Regions from separate parts of the Homo sapiens genome. Here regions 1, 3 and 4 are each linked to region 2. Evidence: promoter capture Hi-C in human tissues and cell types (Jung and others, 2019). All regions are on one chromosome and are shown on one strand. Each heading gives the region's core, a stretch centred on a gene start or on the middle of the fragment in contact. The rest is flanking DNA. Distances are from core to core; before and after follow the strand shown.

Evidence for each region. Contacts are between HindIII fragments. The study calls those that stand out against the background at their distance.
Region 1: a contact is called between a fragment that was not itself captured here and the fragment with the promoter of PDGFRL in region 2, in 1 of the 25 tissues and cell types used here (dorsolateral prefrontal cortex).
Region 3: a fragment that was not itself captured here is called in contact with the fragment with the promoter of PDGFRL in region 2 in 1 of the 25 tissues and cell types used here (stomach).
Region 4: a fragment that was not itself captured here is called in contact with the fragment with the promoter of PDGFRL in region 2 in 2 of the 25 tissues and cell types used here (dorsolateral prefrontal cortex and hippocampus).

The regions. Positions count from the first base shown.
Region 1 is chr8:17,399,946-17,402,645 of GRCh38, reverse strand. The region is part of intron 1 of MTMR7 (myotubularin related protein 7); the gene reads left to right. Among named protein-coding and RNA genes, the nearest start is that of MTMR7, 12 kb to the left of the region's middle. The HindIII fragment of the contact is 6,173 bases long and covers 1-2,700 here.
Region 2 is chr8:17,575,852-17,578,551 of GRCh38, reverse strand. PDGFRL (platelet derived growth factor receptor like) reads right to left here and starts at 1,336. Exons shown (of 6, transcript NM_001372073.1): 1 at 1,245-1,336. The coding sequence starts at 1,299. RefSeq lists silencers at 931-980, 1,071-1,130. The HindIII fragment of the contact is 19,467 bases long and covers 1-2,700 here.
Region 3 is chr8:17,418,491-17,421,264 of GRCh38, reverse strand. No RefSeq gene overlaps it. Among named protein-coding and RNA genes, the nearest start is that of MTMR7, 6.5 kb to the right of the region's middle. The HindIII fragment of the contact is 6,995 bases long and covers 1-2,774 here.
Region 4 is chr8:17,741,594-17,744,293 of GRCh38, reverse strand. MTUS1 (microtubule associated scaffold protein 1) reads left to right here. Exons shown (of 15, transcript NM_001363059.2): 3 at 495-690. Among named protein-coding and RNA genes, the nearest start is that of MTUS1, 58 kb to the left of the region's middle. The HindIII fragment of the contact is 9,707 bases long and covers 1-2,700 here.

The DNA.
Region 1 (2,700 bases), core at 183-2,682, 180 kb after region 2:
GAAAACGTAGTACATATATACAATGGAGTACTATTCAGGCATAAAAAAGGAGGAGATCCCGTCATTTGCAGCAACATGGATGGGACTGAAGGTCATTGTGCTAAGTGAAAGAAGCCAGCTACAGAAAGACAAACTTCACATATTCTCGCTTATTTGTGGGAGCTAAAAATTAAAACAATTGAACACATGGAGACAGAGGGTAGAAGGATGGTTATCAGAGGCTGGGGAAGGTAGTGGGGTCTGGGGCAGGTGAGGGCGGATAGTGGCAATTGTTAACGGCTACAGAAAGTAGTTAGAAAGAATGAGTAAGACCTAGTATTTGATAGCACAACAGGGTGAATAATAATTTAATAAATAATAATAATTTAGCATTTTAAAGTAACTAAAAGAGTATAACTGGATTGTTTGTAACACAAAGAATAAACGTTTCAGGAGCTAGATACCCCATTTACCATGATGTGATTATTACACAACGCATGCCTGTATCAAAGTATCTCACATACTCCATAAATATATAGACCTACTATGTGCTCAGAAAAGTTAAAAAAATTTTTAAAAATAATTTTCCAGAATTTTATTGATAGACTGAATTTATTATGTCTTGTTTATATCAGACTACTTTCAAAAGAATTTGAGACCTTTGTAAAGTATACATGATTTAAAAAATAACCCTATAAAATATGTTTTGTATTGTCATTCCATAGTTCCTTAAGATAAGGTACTTATCCATAAGATCCATAATATGCATAAGATTCATAGTACCTGGATCTTATTAAAATAATTTGTATATCTAATAGGTACCTCAATTTCACTATGTCCCAAACTGAGCTGATTCCCTCTCGTCTCACACCCAATTTTCTCCTCTTGTGCTCTTTCCAATCTTGGCATTTCACCCTTCCAGTGCTGGAGCCAATAACTTTGGAGTTACCCTTCACTCCTCTTTTTCTCTCCTTCCATATCTATGCCAATAGTAAATCCTCAGCACTCTACTTTTAAAATATATCCAGGTTATCGCACCTCCATTCCTACCACCCTGTTCTGAAATACTATCAACTCTTTCCTGGTCCCCTTTTCATTTTTGCCGCTCCCCCACCAGTTTATTTTTGCCAGAGATACTGTTAAATATAATTTGGAGCTTGGACTTCTTTCGTGGGTCTCCTCACACCCAGAGGGAAATTCTATACCTTATCTGCCCCTTCTCCCTCTCAAATCTCATTTCCCACAACTACCCCACTCCCTGTTCTTGGACCTCACTGCTTGACCACTACTCCCTGGATACCCAGGCACACTCCTTTTTCAACACCTTTGCACGAGATGTTTCCTGTGCCTGGAACTTGCTTTCCTTAGATGTGCAGATGGTTTGCTCCCACACTTTTTTAGATCTTTGCTCAAATGTTATTTTATCAAGAAAGCCAATTTATCATCACATATAAAATAACAATCCTAACTCACCTCAACCAACATACTTTACCTCTTTATATTTTTCTCCATAGCATTTTTTCTGTAACATACATACACACCTACACACATACACATACCACACACATGCATACATTCCGTATCCCCCGAATTGCAAAGGTACCTGGCAGCTAGCTGCATTTATATACAACACTGAATGAATGAATATGGATTATTAGGTTCTATAACAGACCGTGTGTTCTGTACACCCAAGCCTCCATGCAAGACCACCAGACTTCAACTTTTGCTAGACCTGTTAAAAGTGAGGATTTCATGAAATGTGGGCGATTTTTGAGGAATGTTTAATCACAACTTCTGTGATTACTTGGCTTAGACAATCTATTCTTACTTGGAAAACTTAAAAAAGAAATACTGCCACATCTACACTTTTAAGTGGATTGCTTCATTCCAGCAAACTTATCTTATCAGCCTTGTCTTTTGAGTAAGAGCGTATTTGATTACAGTGACTACCTCCTCAACAGCTGTTAAATATTGTGCAATAAAAGTCTGACAATTAGATAAGAATCCATCTTTAAACCGGTCTAAATCAAAACAGTACTGAGGTTTGTTCTTTTGATAAAATCAAATTGCAACGACAAGAAAAACCAAGGGTAACGCTTGATAATGTAGAGGTAGCCCATTACTCTAGAGGCAGGGAAGCACACAGGACTCCAGAGGGCCTGGAGATAGCATTGTAAGGCCGCTGGGATCCTAAACTGCATTTTCTTTCCTGTTCTCAACATCAAAACGCAAAATGGTAGAGTTGTTAAGAACACACACTCTGGGGCCACAATGCCTGGTTTTGAATCCTCACTCTGCCTCTTACAGCTCACTAACTTATTTAACTTTAGTTTCCTCATCTGTGAAATGGGGATAACAACAGTACTCACCTCTTAGGGTGATTTTGAGGTCTAAGCGTCTTAATAAATGTGAATCTAGAATGGTGCCTAGCACAGTAGCTATAGTGTTATTTCAGAATTTTCTTTTATCAGTACTATCGGTACTATTGTTGTATTGCTCTTGTTATAAATAATTGCAAAAAATAAATTCAATCTCAACAGTAAACAAATAAACATAAATTGATGAGAAACCATACTTCATCTATAATTCTCAAGAATTTTTTAAAGGGTATTCCTCTGCCATAATAGCAGATACAATCCTAGAGAAAAGCATACAAACAGCATCAAAAATCTTTAAAATGTATATAGAAATGGAACCAGAAAAGATACCTGAGAAATTTAA
Region 2 (2,700 bases), core at 87-2,586:
GGAGCATTTTAATATTGCATTTTACAAACTGAACTCATGGCAACTTCTCTCTGGGCAGAGTTAAGTGTTACTCTCCCAGTAGAAGCTCTGCCTACGTTTTATTAAGCAAAGCTCTAGGCTGAAGGACCCTCATGCTCAACTTCAAGTACCACGACTATCTTGGATTTTGCAAACTACAATGCGGTATTTTTTTGGCAAATGTAGTTTCCTAGGAAAGAAAGGAACTGGTCAGGATGAACGAGTGGATAAAAATGTGAGCCAGGTCGAGCTGGCTCCAGCATGAAGTTGCATAACAGCAAAAGCTACTTTTCCACTAAATCTAAGCAAAAATTGTGTTGTAGCCCAGGAATTTCAAGAGAGGGTTGAGGACACCAGGAGGCACCCAGATGAAACATGTACTGTACAAATAACACCCATGGAGTGAATAGAGCAAACAAAACATTTAAATGCTAACAATAATATATAATACACACCACAGTAATACACACACCCAGACACACAGAAAAATAACACCAGACCCTGTGGTCACGGGTGTACACGACAGGGTGGACCCAGGACAGGTACACATTCAAAAACGCGCAGCGGTCATGGTCCCATAAGCTGTACCAAAAAAATGCATTTTCTTCACCATTTCCCATCCAATTAGATAAATATAATAAGCCGTGGGCTTTTGATTCGTTTTGAAGTTTCATACACTGACATTTTTGTTCGAAGATCTAGGCAGATCTTGCAGGATTCAAGCAAAAGGTGGTAGACGAAAACACGCCCAGAACTGCGAGGGGAGGGGGAGGTCACCTGGAACTCTGCAACCGAATCAGCGATTGCCGAGCTTAGGTGGCACTCGCTCTCAGCAGCAGAGGTCCCAGCCACGCCGCTGGGAGGTGGAAGCGATCCGAGGCTCCCGCCCCACCTCCCAGACCGACACGTTGACACTGGGGGCTGGACCAGGCGCTGGCTGGGGATGCTTGGTTCGCCCGGAGATGGGGACTTGGAGAGGTCCTGGTGGGCTCCTAAGGGTCGGGGTAGCTGCCACCACCCCTAGAGGGCTCTCCGGGCAGGCAAAGAGTGGGAGGAAAGGAGACCCCACCAGGAGGGGGCAGGTGCACCGGGCAGGCAGTGGCGCGGGGGCTGAGCCACCGAGGGCCGAACGTTAGACCAAGAGCTGGCAGGAGGGCGGCGGGGGCTTCGGGTCCCGGCTAAAGTCAGGGCACAAGCTAGGTGGCCCCGCGCCCAGAGTCACTCACCATCCTCCAGCGCTTCGTGCACCAGCAGAAGACCAAGCAGCAGCCAGACCTTCATCTCGGGAACCTCGGACCTCGGAGCGCAGGAGCGCGGCGGCTGCGCGGGGCGGGGACGCAGGGGAGGCGGCGGGCGAGGGGCGGGCTCCTGGGACGCCGAAGCGGGAGGATTCGGTTTCTTCAGGAGGAACAAGGTTTGGGGGAAAAAGTTGGGGAATTTTTTTTTTTTTTAGTTCTCTGTGTAATGTGACTTCTCCTGCCCCCTGGCGGAGCCGCGGTGCGCAGCACTTCTTCCCAGCGCGGGGAGGAAAGGCTAAGCGTGAAATGTACATTACAACAGCCATTCCTTGAATTTCTCCAACGCTTGGCGTTTTCACCAAGGTTATCAAGTTCAAGAAGGATCAGCGGGTGCTGATGGGGTCACTTTTAACCACGATTGTCCAAATGTTACCAGCGCCCGCCCCACCTCCTCAGGCAGAACCTGAGTGCTCTGTAAAAAGTGCTTCCTAAATTATTTCTGTTCATTCCATTTCTCTCCCCCACATGCACTCACTCACAGGACCGTTGCCCCGGGTTCTTGCTGCTCCTCTGTGTCTGGCCAGAGTTGGTCTCCGCACCCAGCCCTGTAACTGCTGGTGGGGGTGGGAGGACGGGTTCATTACAGGAATAACGTGGAAAATGAGACTGTGCAGACAACCCGGGCCTCTGGTGGTGAGGCAGGAGAACAGGGAATTAGGGTAAGCACGGGCTAGGGTATGAGCAGGAGAACAGCAGGTGCAGCCAGTTCGCAGAAGCAAAAGATCAGCAGGTGCAGACAGTTCTAGGCATGATTAGGCGGCACACAGGCCACATCCTCGCTCCTCTGATAACAAGGCAGAAGTTTCCACTTCAGCCTCGGACTGGTCGCAGGCCAGTCCTTCGTAAGGTGTAACCAGTTGGAGGCCTCTAAAGGGAACCCAAGGGTGTTGCCAAGTTCTTTTCGCTTTATAAAATCCCTGGGGAGCGTCAGGCTCTTGTGGCTTGCTGCAGCGCCCTCTGTGAATTGTCTTCTATAAATCTACGTTTTCCTTCCTCCCTTCTGTTGCTTTGTTTTTCCTTGCTTCTTTCTTTCGTTACTCCGTGCATTTCGTTCAATTTTTTGTTCAACAGGCCAAGAACCTGGACAACTCTATCAGGTAACAGTGGGGCAGAAGATACGGGCTTTCACAAGTCCCTCTGCAGAGAGCCATCCTGCGTTTCTGAGCTTGCAGACTCTCATGATCAAAGCAGTTTGCTAGCGGGGGAGATGCCTGTGTGTGTTCCCCCGGTGAGAAGCAGCCCATCTCATTGTAATCTTCAGCACCAGGCACTGCTATTAAAGGGAGCTCAATTCTAAATAACAGGAAAGGGACTTGTCCCTCAACACCCAACGAAAGAAGTGCTGCCATTTATAACAAACTAATGCTTCTCAGTCACTTCTGCA
Region 3 (2,774 bases), core at 72-2,571, 160 kb after region 2:
ACACAAGTATTTTCATACTCTGGGCTCTTTTGAAAGATCCATCCCTAAATATTTTCCTTGTTTCTCATTGCCAATCTCAAATTTTGTTCCTTCCAAGTCCCGGGCATTGAACAAATGCTGCTCACCCACCTTTAATTGGCATCAGTCTGTATATGTGGCCATCTATCCTTCAAGGCATTGAAGTTTCAAGAAAAACTGCACAGTTCTGCCCACCTGGAGAAGTTCCGTCCTCTCCATCCTTGGTGGCCACTCCTGAGCAGAGCTGTAGTGCTGCAGCATTCCACTTCCGGCCGCTTTGAGTTTATGGTGCAGAAACGTATATAAACCAGGCTGGAACTTTTTCTTCTTTTGTGAACTACGTGCATTAAATGCCCTATAACACTGTAAGTATGAATTGAGGGAGAGGTGGCATTGATCGACACTGGAAGAAGACATGGGAATCTGAACCACCTTCTCGTGAAACTCAGTTGGACCTTTAGCGTATGCTTCAGTGGGAGCTCTCTCTCTCTCTCTCTTTATTGTTTTTGAGACAGGGTCACCTCTGTCACCCAGGCTGAAGTGCAGTGGTGTGATCATGGCTCACTGCAGCCTCGACTTTCCAGGGAGATCTCTTATGTCCCACTTCCTTCTGATGTTTGAGTGCTTCTGGGCTATGCAGAGGATGCAGGCATCCTCTGCATCTTTTTAACATGAGCACAACAGACCACCTCATACCCATTAAGATGGCTGCTATAAAAAAAAAAAAAACTAAAACCAAAAATCCTCCAGAAAATAACATGTATTTGTGATGAAGCAGAGAAATTGGAACACTTCTGCACTGTTAGTGGGAAGGTAAAATGCTGCAACCACCATGAAAAACAGTGTAAGATTTCCTCAAAAAACTAAAAATGGAATTACCATATGACCCAGCAATTCCATGTCGGGGTGTATATTCAAAAGAATTGAAAGCAGGTGTCAGTGAGATTTCTGCACACCCATGTTCATAGCAGGATTATTCACAATAGCCAAAATGTACAAGCAACCCAACTGTCCACTGGAGAATGAATGGATAAACAAAATGTGCTCTATCCACACAATGGAATATTATTCAGCCTTCAAGAGGCAAACAATTCTGACATATGCTACAACATGGATGCATCTTAAGAAAATTGTGCCAAGTGAAATAAGCCATTCACAAAAGGACAAATACTATATGATCATACGGTATTTATGTGAGGTACCTAGAGTTGTCATATTCATAGTAATAGAAAGTAGAAGGATGATTGCCAGGGGCCAAGGGTAGGGAAAAATCAGGAGTTATCGTTGTGTGGGTACAGAGTTTCAGCTTCGCAAGATGAAAAGCGTTCTGGAGATGGATAGTGGTGATGATTGCACAACAATGTAAATACGGTTAACACCACTGAACAATACACTTAAAATGGTTAAAATGGTAAATTTTATGTATATTTTACCATATTTTGAAGTACCTTAAAAGTTAACACAAGGGCGCTGTATGGCTGTGGTGGGCCATGCAGTAACCAACCATGAGTCTTCAATTAGAGCTTGCAAGAGGCTCCATACCAACCTCTATCTGCTGCAGTCACCTTGAGTATATCTGGATCTGCTGAGGTCAAAAGGCCACTGTGGTAGATCCGTATCCACTACAACCCAAACCAGCTGGAGAGCCTTTTTGTGCTCTGGGCCCTGTGCAGAGCTGGTAGCCTTTCTGGATAGCTCAGGAATAGGTTACATCATATATTAGTAGGGGTGCAAAGTGAAGCAACTTGCCTTTCACTTTGGAGAGGCTATTTTAACATGCTCCAGACTACTGCAGATCTCTAGAAATTCACTGAGATGTCAGGACCCTGAACTTTCCCAGAGTGCATCTCCCACCCTCTGATATGCATGTGCCTTAGTTAGACATCTACCACTTTCAGTTCAACAGGTCCAATCAGCATGTTATTATCAATGTAGTGGACCGTGTAGTAGCCTTAGCATAATGTACTGATCAAGGTCCTCGTGGAAAAGTTGTGACAGATGAAAATAAACTGCTTATGATCATCTCTGCTCATTGAAATGAACAGACAAGAGTTACTTTGGAAGAACTGCATCTGGTGGGAATGTTCAAATGAATTTTGACATGAACCTCAAAGAATTTGATAGACGTGGAACAGCATGAGCGAAGACATAGAAATAATTTGCAAGTGCAGGATATAGAAAGGGATTGGTTGACTAATTGATACATTTAAAAGTATGTATCTAGGCTGCGTGCAGAGGCTCGCACCTGTAATCCCAGCACTTTGGGAGGCTGAGGGGGGAGGATCATGAGGTCAGGAGATCGAGACCATCCTGGCTAACACGGTGAAACCCTGTCTCTACTAAAAATACAAAAAAAAAAAAAAAAAAAAATTAGCCGGGCGTGGTGGCGGGCGCCTGTAGTCCGGCTACTGGGAAGGCTGAGGCAGGAGAATGGTGTGAACCCAGGAGGTGGAGCTTGCAGTGAGCTGAGATCGCACCACTGCACTCCAGCCTGGGCGACAGAGCGAGACTCCATCTCAAAAAAACAAAAAAACAAAAAAAACAGTATTGAGCACCTACTAAATGCCAGTGACTTACTTGGCTGAGTTTGTAAAAGACAGCAGTCTGAGCCTTAAAGGACAGAGTAAGGAAATAATTCACAAGGCAATTATAAACCACTTGAAGGTTTTTAAGCTGGAGAGTGATATGGTTAGGGTGGTTTTCATGAAGATTAATCTGGCAGCAGAGGCTAATATTCCAGCCAGGAAGAAGCAATA
Region 4 (2,700 bases), core at 190-2,689, 170 kb before region 2:
CAAATATTACCTATTTAGACTTTTAAAAGGTGCTAGACTCTCAGCTAATTTCTTTGGGACCAAAGATCTGGGAAGGGAAGAAGATTCTCTACAGAATGTAAATTTGCCCCTACAAGAGACAGCTTTGCAGGGCCATTTCAAAATGTGTTAAAGAAAAATATTTTGGGGTAAAATACTTCAATTTCCTTCAGGGCTTGCTGTCTGTCATGTGATGCTAAACTAGAGTCAGGTTGGAATTTAGTGTCTTTTTGCTATAAAGAGTCTGTTTTGTCTGACTTAAGGTTTCTGTTTTAATGTTAATTCTGGTCAGTTGTGCCTGAATTCTAAAGGGAGGAGAGTATAATGAGGCATGTCTGACCTCTTTGCCATCATGGCCTGAACTTGTTTTTTAGGTTTCTTTGGAATTGCCTTGGCCTAGAGGAGGGGCCCATTCAGTCAGTTGGGGGGCTTAGAATTTTAGTTTTGGTTTACAGTCTTAACTGTTATTTTCACAGGGCTCTGCTTCAAAAACAACGACCACCTCAGGTAGGAATATATCCAAGCCTGACTCCTGCGGTTTGAGGCAAATAGCTGCTCCAAAAGCCAAAGTGGGGCCCCCTGTTTCCTGTTTGAGGCGGAACAGTGACAATAGAAATCCCAGTGCTGATCGAGCCGTATCTCCTCAGAGGATCAGGCGTGTGTCCAGTTCTGGTAAGAATAAAATAGTTCAATAGTTTATGAGTTAATTGAATGTAAAATTGGACAGTCATGATTATAGGTCTAATGCCTTCTGTCACTAAAGCAGTTAGCCTTTTGTGGATCAGCATCCTGAGCACAGGAGGTAGAAAAAGAAGATGACAACATATATCCCTTATCTTTGAGCAAGGCAAAGGCTAGTTGAGGAGAGAGGTATAGGTGTATAAACCATCTTATAAGCTATTCAGAAGGATGTGTACATAAATATACAATTGGGTGGCTGATGTAAATTTGAATCATTTCATTAAGTTTTTTCAAATGGTTAAGTGCTTAACAATGCTGAAGTGTTGTACGGTAGGTCCCTAGTGTGCCCTCAATACATGTGAAGAGATTAATTTTTTTTTTAATTTTACTGAAAGATGTATGATAGATTTAGGAGGGATATGAGGGTGACTAAAAAGTTAAATTTTTCTAATGTGAACTTTTATTTATGTTGGCTTGTATCTTACAATTTGTAATTTTAAAGTCATGTTAGGCCAATGAAATGTGAGCGCCTCAAGAATAGCTATTAAGTATCATACTAAATTTGGCGGACGTACAGATCTGTGTTACAAAGAAATGGAAAAGTCATCCCTGTGTCACGGGGATGAAAAGCCTGCTAGCCATTCCAATTGACTGAGAACATCTTGCAAAGAACCCACCTTACTTCTGCCGGTACAGCCTTGGGCAAATTAAAGTCATGTCAAATCAATTTAGTAGTAAGTTCCCTTATACAAATAGTTATGTGTCCACACACGTGAGAATGTTTTATGGAAACTAATGAAAGCGAGCAAATCCCAGAAGATCTCTGTACCTCTCTACAATTTAGTATTTGTAGGTTTCATTTTTCAACCCTACCATGAAGCCTCAAGTGTGAAAGCCTGTAATGCTTAGAAATGTTTTACGGGCTGTTTATTTAGATTCAGGCCTAGTGTCAAGGTCAAGGAGACATGACCACAGAGGCGTGAGTGGAGGAAGAGGGGTTTGCAGCACATGGCTCCATCCCCAGAGGATCTGGGTGGAAACAGGAATTCATTAGCTTGGAGTGTTCATCATCTGGGAGAAAAACAGAGGCCAAAAGCCATTGGGAGAAAGAGTGATTCTTATTTGGGATATTGCCACACCTGGGGAGTCAAGGCATGAGTGAGATGAAAGCTCTAGTCCTGGCTGGGTGTGGTGGTTTATGCCTGAAATCCCAGTGCTTTAGGAAGCCAAAGTGGGCCAGGAGTTCAGGACCAGCCTGGGCAACATAGCAAGACACTATCTCTAAAAAAAAAAAAAAAAAAAACAACAACAACAAAAAAAAAAAACAGCTGGGCATGAGAGCATGATGGTGTGCCCTTGTAGGGGCTCCTCAGCTATTCAGGAGGCTGAGGCAGGAAGATCACTTGAGCCCAGAAGTTCAAAGCTGCAGTGAGCTATGATCATGCCACTGTACTCCAACCTGGGCAGCAGAGCAAAACCCTGTCCCTTGGTGGTGAAGAAAAAGCTCTGGTCCTTACTGTAGTTGTCCAATAAGGCTCATGGTGCTTGCAGAGAATGGGAAGCTCCCTTCCTCCTCTGTGAGGAACACCTGTAGCTTGGTGGCACTGGAGTGTGGCCCCTGGCCTGCAGTTAGGAGCCCTGTGTTTTAGTTCCACTCTGGCCCCAATACGCTGCCTGAGCAAGTCTTTTACTCTCCCTGGGCTTCATCTTCACATCTTGAAAGTGTAAGTGTCTGAGAATCTAAGACCCTGTCAGCTTTTACAGCCCTTACCTTTCTAGGGACAATTTGGAGCTCACCTAATTTTCTGAGTAACTGCTGTTACTGGTATGATTCTCTGAATTTCGTGGGGCTTGAATCCCAGAAAATCTAAGCGCACATACTTTTAAGAAATGAGGCCAGTACCCAGGATACATTGAAAAAGATAGAATCCTTTTATGTAGGCGATCAGTCCCACCCAGCGGGGAAGTAGTTGTTAAGTCCTTTTACTCTGTGTTGCATAA